Linked DNA regions of Homo sapiens: region 2 is linked to region 1. The links are contacts of gene promoters, found by promoter capture Hi-C in blood cells and fetal thymus (Javierre and others, 2016). All regions are on one chromosome and are shown on one strand. The core of a region is centred on a gene start or on the middle of the fragment in contact, and the rest is flanking DNA. Distances in the headings are between cores, read along the strand shown. Region 1 holds the start of ESRP2 (epithelial splicing regulatory protein 2). Region 2 overlaps LCAT (lecithin-cholesterol acyltransferase).

Region 1 (5,434 bases), core at 2,596-5,095:
GATCCCCAGCGTCGAATCCTCTTCCACTGCGAGATCTTTCTTGGTAGCGAAGGGAAGGAGGGAGGGCGTTTTCGCACCACTCCTAGACGCCCTGGAGGTTCCAGGAGACCCGCCACGCTTCCCGCCTCCCACCCTGTATCTGCCCGGGCTTTCATGTCCCCGAGGCAACAGCGCCGGCTGCCTTTAGGAGTGCAGCCCAGGCAGGCCTGAGGGCCAAGGTGAGGGTAAAATTTCGCGAGTATGAGGCCCACGGAACCCAGTTCTTTCTTCCAAATATCTGGCACGCGGTTTTGAGAAAGGCGGCTGACCTCAGGCGGCCTGGGCCGTCGGGGCCTTGCTTACCTCTCTGCCGTACCAATCTCCTATTCATTAATTCATGAACCCCAGGGGAGCGAGGAGTGGGGTGGGGGTGGGGGACAATTTTTAGAGAAGTACAGAAATCTCAAACTACAGAAGGGACCCCTGCGGAAGGTAGAAAATCTGGAGGAAGGCCGGGAGCGGTGGCTCATGCCTGTAATCCCAACACTCTGGGAGGCCGAGGCGGGCGGATCACGAGGTCAGGAGTTCGAGACCAGCCTGTTCAATATGGGGAAATCCCATCTTTATTAAAAATACAAAAATTAACCCGGCATGGTGGCGCGCGCCTGTAGTCCCAGCTACTCGGGAGGCTGAGGCAGAGGCAGAGGCAGAGGAATCGCGTCAACCCAGGAGGCGGAGGTTGCAGTGAGCCGGGATCATGCCATTGCACTCCAGCCTGGGGGACAGAGCGAGACTCTGTCTCAAAAAAAAAAAAAAAAAAAAAAAAATTCTGGAGGAAGAGCTGGAGCCCTAGATAGAGAAGGGGTAGGGCTGGAGAGGAGGAAAGGGCACAGATGAGACCCTACTGCAAAGGCCTGTGTCTTACCATTGCTGAAATACCCTGTGGCAGAAGAAGCTAGCCTTAGACAACAGTTCATTCATTCAGTGACAGGCGTTGGGGGTAAGCCTCTATCTTCGAGGATAGGATGATGGAGCGGGGAGACAATACACGATTAATAAATCGTGTTATAAGTTGGTTAAGTTGGGGGGTTGGGGGGCAGAAAGAAGCAATGAGGGTCGGTTGGGGTCAGGAGTGTGGGTTGTTTAGTAATAATGGGGTCATCTGGAAGGACTCATCTGAAGATGAGTAAGGGATCTCAGCAAAACAGGACCCCACCCTCCTGCCCAGTATTTAAACGAATTTGGTTTTTAAAGAAGAATGCAAGGGTTGGAGCTGAGTGCACGGTAGCTCATGCCTATAATTCTAGCCCTTCGGGAGGCCGAGGTGGGCGGAGTTCGAGACCAGCCTGGTCAACATGGCGAGACCCCGTCTCTGCAAAAAATACAAAAATTAGCCAGGCGTGGTGGCTCACGCCCGTAATCCCAGCACTGGGAGACCGAGGCGGGTGGATCACCTGAGGTCAGGAGTTCGAGACCATCCAGCCTGATCAACATGGTGAAACCCCGTCTCTACTAAAAAAATACAGGCGTGGTGGTGCACGCCTGTAATCCCAGCTACTTGGGAGGCTGAGGCAGGAGAATCGCTTGAACCCAGGAGGCGGAGGTTGCAGTAAGCCGAGATCGCGCCATTGCACTCCAGTCTGGGCAACAAGAGCAAAACTCCGTCTCAAAGAAAAGAATAATAAAAATTAAAAAAATAAAATAAAATAAAAAGAATCTAAGTTGCAGGAGTTGTCTTGCTATGGGGGCAGCCGGATGGGCATCCGGGGTAGTTTAGGGGAGCCGCACTGTGCTACCAGCCCGTGCCTCAGGTTCACGACCCAGCGGCGACTTGGACACGCATAAGCGCGTCTTCCGTGGGAAAGCGCTCAGGACTGCCAGAGACGCCACAATGGAGCAGTCACCTCGCGAAGGTGGCTTCCGGGAAGAGCGGGCGTCGAGACTCAGGCTGAAGAGGAAAAAGGGCCTAGAGGCTGCACAGATGAGGTCGCCAGGAGGGGCGAGAAGGAGACCGAGTAGCGCCCAGACCTTCGGGCGGGGACGCTGTGACCCTGTGCTGTAAGAGTGGAACCCAGACAGGAGCCAAGGAGGAAGCGACGTGCTTCTGTGGAGCTTTAGGAATGCGGCGGTTAGGGCCACTGGTTTAGGGGAGTTGGCTGGAAGGGCGTGGCCGGAGGAAGGGCCGCCTCCACCAAGCGCAGGCGCCCTACCGGGCGGGAGGGGGAGGAGCGTTACTCGCGGTTGCGCCCCGCCCCGCGAACAAATATTTGACATTCCAGGCTTATCGGGAGGAGGGGCCCGAGGAGCAACGTTCTCCCTTCCCCCGCGCCTGATTCGCTTACCGCTTCCGGGGGAGGAGACGCATGGGCCAGTGCCCGGGTGGGCGGTCCGGAGATGGACAGCCGCGCACCAAGGCCCGCCTCCACCTGTAGGGAAAGTAAAGTGCTACTCGCTCGAACCCGCCGGGCGAAGGAAGCACTTCCCATGCTCTCCCTGTCGCCGTGTCCGGGCGCGAGTCATTTCCGTCCCGGGCGCCTGTTTCTTTAGCTGCCAAGTGGAGCTACGCTGAGCTCTCTCCCCCCGGGCCTCGCCCCTTTCCCGGGCATGAGCTCTGGTGATGCGCCCGGGTGCCCCGCTCTCTCCATTGTCCAGGGGCCGGGCCGCAGCACCCTCCTTGTCCGAAAGCGCGTGGTGCGGCTCCCGTCTCAGTCTCGAGTCGGGCTAGGCAACCGCGTGACTCAGTTCCCGCCACGCTGGAGCCCCCTCCTTCCTGCTGGATTATTCAGTTTCTCAGTCACTTATTCAGTTTCTCAGTCACCTCCCTGGGAGAGTTTGGGAAAGTAAGGAACGGCCGGGAAACGCGCCATAAAGGAGCCTCACCAAGCTCCACTGGGCAAAGGGAGGAATGGGAGCCCCAAATGCGGGGCTGTCAATTGGGTTGTAGGTGCGGGATGGAAAAGGGAGGATCTGCAGCCCGCATGCGCGCACACACGCTCAACGCTAGCCCCCCATCGGCCAGAGCGCTCGCAATCTCCAGGCAGCTTCTCCACCGTCCAGAAAGGGACGAAAGCAGGCAGGCCCCCACACGTGGGGTAGGAGTGAGGCTCCAGGCCCGTTCTACCCCTCTCAGCCTCGTCTAGGGTGCAGCTCTCTGCGATTTGGGGGGTTCCTTTCCCCAGCATTGAGGCCTGCCCACTCCCAACCCACAACGACCGCGCTCTGGCACTTCTCAGTGCCAGGCTAGCGCTCGGCCCTAGCATCTGCGTGGACAAGCCCTTCCCTGTGATCCCTGGTGACCACCCCACAGCTCTAACAACGCTGATGTTCCCGCCGCCCTCCCCTTTCCCAGGTGACTTCTGGTGATCCCCCTACAGGGTGATACCCGGCAACTCTCACCGCCCCCTTGACCCTTTGACTTCCATCAACCCCAGACCTGCCGTGTTGACCCCCACAGCCCCTAGACTGCCTCCTGGTGACTTCCATACTGGAGAAGGCCTCTGTCTTGCACGCTCCTTTGCAGAGGCCTGACGACCCCTGGGGAAGAGTGGGGGGAGAGCGGAAGAATGGGTTAGCCCCCAAAATCAGGCAGGACCAGCCCTGGAAGTAGGAATCCGGATCCTAAGCGTGCGCCCAGGCCGGGAGCGTGAGCTCTTGCGTCCTGGGTTGAGTTCTGGCGGCCCTCCCCCAAGGTTCCCGGAGCCGCCCCGGTCACGTGGCCGGCGGGGCCGGCAGGTAACTCGCCTGGAGAGGGCGTGGGCCGGTAGCCGCCCCGCCCCGCGGGGCGCCACGGGCGGGTCTTGGCAGCGCCCACTGAGCCAGCCGGGCCGCAGGTGCCGCCCCCGATACACGGTGTCCCGCCCAAGCTGATCCGCGTCTGCGGTCGGTCGGTGCGTGCGTGCGCCTCGTCGGTCCGCGTGTCTGGCCGAGAGCCCCCTTCCTCTGCGGCCATGACTCCGCCGCCGCCGCCGCCCCCTCCCCCGGGCCCTGACCCCGCGGCCGACCCCGCCGCGGACCCCTGCCCCTGGCCCGGATCACTGGTCGTCCTCTTCGGGGCTACGGCGGGTGCGCTGGGACGGGACCTGGGCTCGGACGAGACCGACTTAATCCTCCTAGTTTGGCAAGTGGTTGAGCCGCGGAGCCGCCAGGTAGGGTGGAAAAGAGGCGGTGAGGTCCCCAGGGAGCTTCCGGGGTCGAGGGGCGCGGCTGATCGGTTTCCCCCGCCGCTCACAGGTGGGGACGCTGCACAAATCGCTGGTTCGTGCCGAGGCGGCCGCACTGAGTACGCAGTGCCGCGAGGCGAGCGGCCTGAGCGCCGACAGCCTGGCGCGGGCAGAGCCGCTGGACAAGGTGCTGCAGCAGGTGAGCGCCGGGGTGGGTGGCGGCATGGCCTGGACGTGAGGACATTTCTGGGCGGGATTGGCGGCCGGAGGCTAGGCCTGGCGTGCCGCAACCAACCGGTCCAGGCGGCAGGACTGGGCTCTTGTTTGAAACTTTGAGCGACTCTCGCGTGTGCGTGCCCCTTTCATCCGCGCGTGCCAGCCATTCCCCTGGGCTCCTTACTTTTCAACCATTGCAGGAACCTACTCCTACCGAAGGGATCGGGACGCAGGCTTTGGGATCCATCCCCAGTTCCCGCCCGGGGAGCGAGGCCGAGACGCCTTTGGGAGACCTGCTGGGTCAGGTCTCCCTGAGCCGCAGCCGGAAGCGAAAGGGGTCGAGGGGCCCATATAGGTCACCTGTCCTTGCGGCCCGCGTCTTCGGCCTGCTTGGGAGCTGCTGGAGCGGAGGCGTAGGGCGGTGTCGGCCCTAGAGGTAGACGCCGCCAGGTGTAAACTGCTCGTCTAGGCCTGTCCCGGCCGGCTGGCCAGGCGTGGGCGCTGTCCCGGCCTGGCCTGGGGGACTATCTGCCTGCTGAGTGCAAAGGCCTGGGGTGCCTCCTGCCCTAGCTGAAGTGGGAGGTGGTTTCCATTGCTGTTTTCTTTTCCTTATCTTCACTACGGCGCTCATTCTATGTCTGACTCTTGAGTGTAATTAGTGTAAGTCCTTTTTATACACTCACGTTCTTTCATCTTCCAACAACTCTTGTGGTTCCTGATGAGGAGGCACCACGATGATGATTCCTTGTCTGTTCCAGAAGGGCTCCCGGCCCTTCACTTGGGGAGTTTGCTGGAGGAGAGCTGGGTTGCCTTGCTCTGTCAGCCCCAAGTTGTAAAGTGTCACAGAATTGGCAGGGAGGGTTCGTGGGTCACTGATTAGTGTTTATACTTCTCCAGCAAGGATGGAGGCTGGGGGAGGGCTGGGCAGCCTCAGGAGTGCCACCCCCTCTATGAGCAAACAGCTCAGTGCCAGCCGGTCAATAGGATGTGGGTCAAAGCTCATGCTGCCCCTGATGTCCAAGTGTGGAGCTCTGTCCTTGGAGTTTCTCTGCCCCTCGGTTGGTCAGACCTGGAGGCGG
Region 2 (2,500 bases), core at 1-2,500, 290 kb after region 1:
CCCTATGACTGGCGGCTGGAGCCCGGTGAGTGTCTCTGCGGATGACCGGCTTGGGGTGGGGCAGGTGCCCCAGACCCCAGCTGCCCTGACCCCTTCCACCCGCTGCAGGCCAGCAGGAGGAGTACTACCGCAAGCTCGCAGGGCTGGTGGAGGAGATGCACGCTGCCTATGGGAAGCCTGTCTTCCTCATTGGCCACAGCCTCGGCTGTCTACACTTGCTCTATTTCCTGCTGCGCCAGCCCCAGGCCTGGAAGGACCGCTTTATTGATGGCTTCATCTCTCTTGGGGCTCCCTGGGGTGGCTCCATCAAGCCCATGCTGGTCTTGGCCTCAGGTGAGAAGGCCTCGAACACTTAGGTCCAGCGATGGGTGAGACCAAGCTGATCCTGGGCCTGCCTTCATTGCGGCTCCTGCTCACAGTGGCCTCTAGGGGTGCTATCTACCACTCCTGGGCTGGCATGCTTGCTGTCACTGGCCCCCAGAGCAGTGACCCTGGCCTGAGCAATTAGGGTGGCTCCTTCCAGAGTCTGTGTCAGTGATGGCAAAGGGGCAGTGAACACAGAAAGTGAATCCCAGCTATCTGCTCCCAGGGTTTGTTCTTGTAGCCCCAGAGCCTGCCTGCCCAGCCCTTGCCTGCCTTCCACTTGCTCGCAGGAGTGCCTTTGCCCAGGGATGTGCTTCACTGAGGATGGATCTGCCAGAGCTAGGGCCAGACCCCCCGAGGCCCCACCTGCTCTTCCCTAGGGAGTGGCACCAGGGCCCAGCACTGACACAGCTACCACCTACTCCCCACCCCCTGTACCCTGGGAGCTGGTCTGGAGAGAGAAACACAGTCTGGACAAGAGAAACGCTCATCAGACACCACCAATAAACATCAAACAGACACCATCTTGTTTCCCCCTTTCTGGAGCACAACTCTGTGGCCCCCATTGCTGCATAAGCCACACAAGGAGCAGAAAGACACATGCCCGAGGGAGGACAGCCAGCACCGCCCCCACCATCCCCACACATCCTGGGCCTCACCCACCATCCCCACACACCCTGGTCCTCAGGAAGCCCCGCCTACTTTTTTTTTTCTTTTTCAGACAGGGTCATTCTGTCGCCCAGGCTGGAGTGCAGTGGCGTGATCATAGCCGCAGTCTCAATCTCCCTGGCCCAAGCAATCCTCCTGCCTCAGCCTCCTGGTTAGCTGAGACTATAGGCACACAACACCACACCTAATTTATTTTTGTTTTTTAGTAGAGATGAGGTCTTGCTATGTTGCCCAGGCTGGTCTCAAACTCTTCACCTTAAGTGATCTTCCTGCCTCAGCCTCCCGAAGTGCTGGGATTACAGGCGTGAGCTACTGTGCTGGGCCTTTTAAAAAATGTTTATTTGTTTATTTATGTATTTTGAGATGGAGTCTCGCTCTGTTTCCCAGGCTGGAGTGCAGTAGTGCAATCTCCACTCACTGCAACCTCCATCTCCCCAGTTCAAGTGATTCTTCTGCCTCAGCCTCCCTAGTAGCTAGGATCACAGGCATGTGCCACCACGCCTGGCTAATTTTTATATTTTTAGTAGAGATTAGGTTTCCCCATGTTGGCCAGGCTGGTCTCGAACTCCTGACCTTAAGTCATCTGCCTGCCTCGGCCTCCCAAAGTGCTAGGATTACAGGTGTGAGCCACCGTACCCGGCCCTATTTATTTATTTTTTAAGCTGGAATCTCACTGTGTCACCCAGGCTACAGTGCAGTGGTGCGATCATAGTTTACTGTAACCTCAAATTCCTAGGCTCAAGCAATCTTCCTGCCTTTGCCTCCTGAGTAGCTAGGACTAGAGGTGCACTCCACTAAGCCCAGCTGATTTTTTTTTTTTTTTTTTTTGTAGAGACAGGGTCTCACTGCATTGCCTAGTCTGGTCACGGACTCCTGGCCTCAAGTGATCCTCCTGCCTCAGCCTCCCAAAGTGTTGGGATTACAGGGGTGAGCCATGGTGCCTGTCCCTGCCATCCTTTTGAAGCCCTACAGCTCCACCCAACAGAGGTCTTATCAGGGCTTCTCATTGAGTAAGCTGACACTGAGCATCATTGAATATCAGGCCTGCTCAAGCCTGTGGCTTAGAGTCTGTGTCTAGATTGGGCAGGGACAAGATTGAGCATCTGGCTGAGCCTACACTCAGCAGGTTGTGGGCCAGGGGTAGCCAGGCCTGGCTCCCTGTCCCACCTTGCTCCATATCCACAGGTGACAACCAGGGCATCCCCATCATGTCCAGCATCAAGCTGAAAGAGGAGCAGCGCATAACCACCACCTCCCCCTGGATGTTTCCCTCTCGCATGGCGTGGCCTGAGGACCACGTGTTCATTTCCACACCCAGCTTCAACTACACAGGCCGTGACTTCCAACGCTTCTTTGCAGACCTGCACTTTGAGGAAGGCTGGTACATGTGGCTGCAGTCACGTGACCTCCTGGCAGGACTCCCAGCACCTGGTGTGGAAGTATACTGTCTTTACGGCGTGGGCCTGCC

Evidence for each region. The method cuts DNA at HindIII sites, captures the fragments that hold promoters and counts their contacts. A CHiCAGO score of 5 or more calls a contact.
Region 2: a contact is called between a fragment that was not itself captured here and the fragment with the promoter of ESRP2 in region 1, in 1 of 17 cell types (fetal thymus). The highest score is 6.4, in fetal thymus.

The regions. Positions count from the first base shown.
Region 1 is chr16:68,234,538-68,239,971 of GRCh38, reverse strand. ESRP2 (epithelial splicing regulatory protein 2) reads left to right here and starts at 3,845. Exons shown (of 15, transcript NM_024939.3): 1 at 3,845-4,124; 2 at 4,210-4,338. The coding sequence starts at 3,927. RefSeq lists enhancers at 1,294-1,880, 1,881-2,469, 2,470-3,057, 3,058-3,646 and silencers at 2,138-2,237, 2,268-2,357, 3,668-3,897. The HindIII fragment of the contact is 18,011 bases long and covers 1-5,434 here.
Region 2 is chr16:67,940,196-67,942,695 of GRCh38, reverse strand. It overlaps LCAT (lecithin-cholesterol acyltransferase), which reads left to right. Exons shown (of 6, transcript NM_000229.2): 4 at 1-25; 5 at 109-333; 6 at 2,218-2,500. Among named protein-coding and RNA genes, the nearest start is that of LCAT, 2.7 kb to the left of the region's middle. RefSeq lists enhancers at 1-344, 328-377, 2,465-2,500, 2,303-2,500. The HindIII fragment of the contact is 4,708 bases long and covers 1-2,500 here.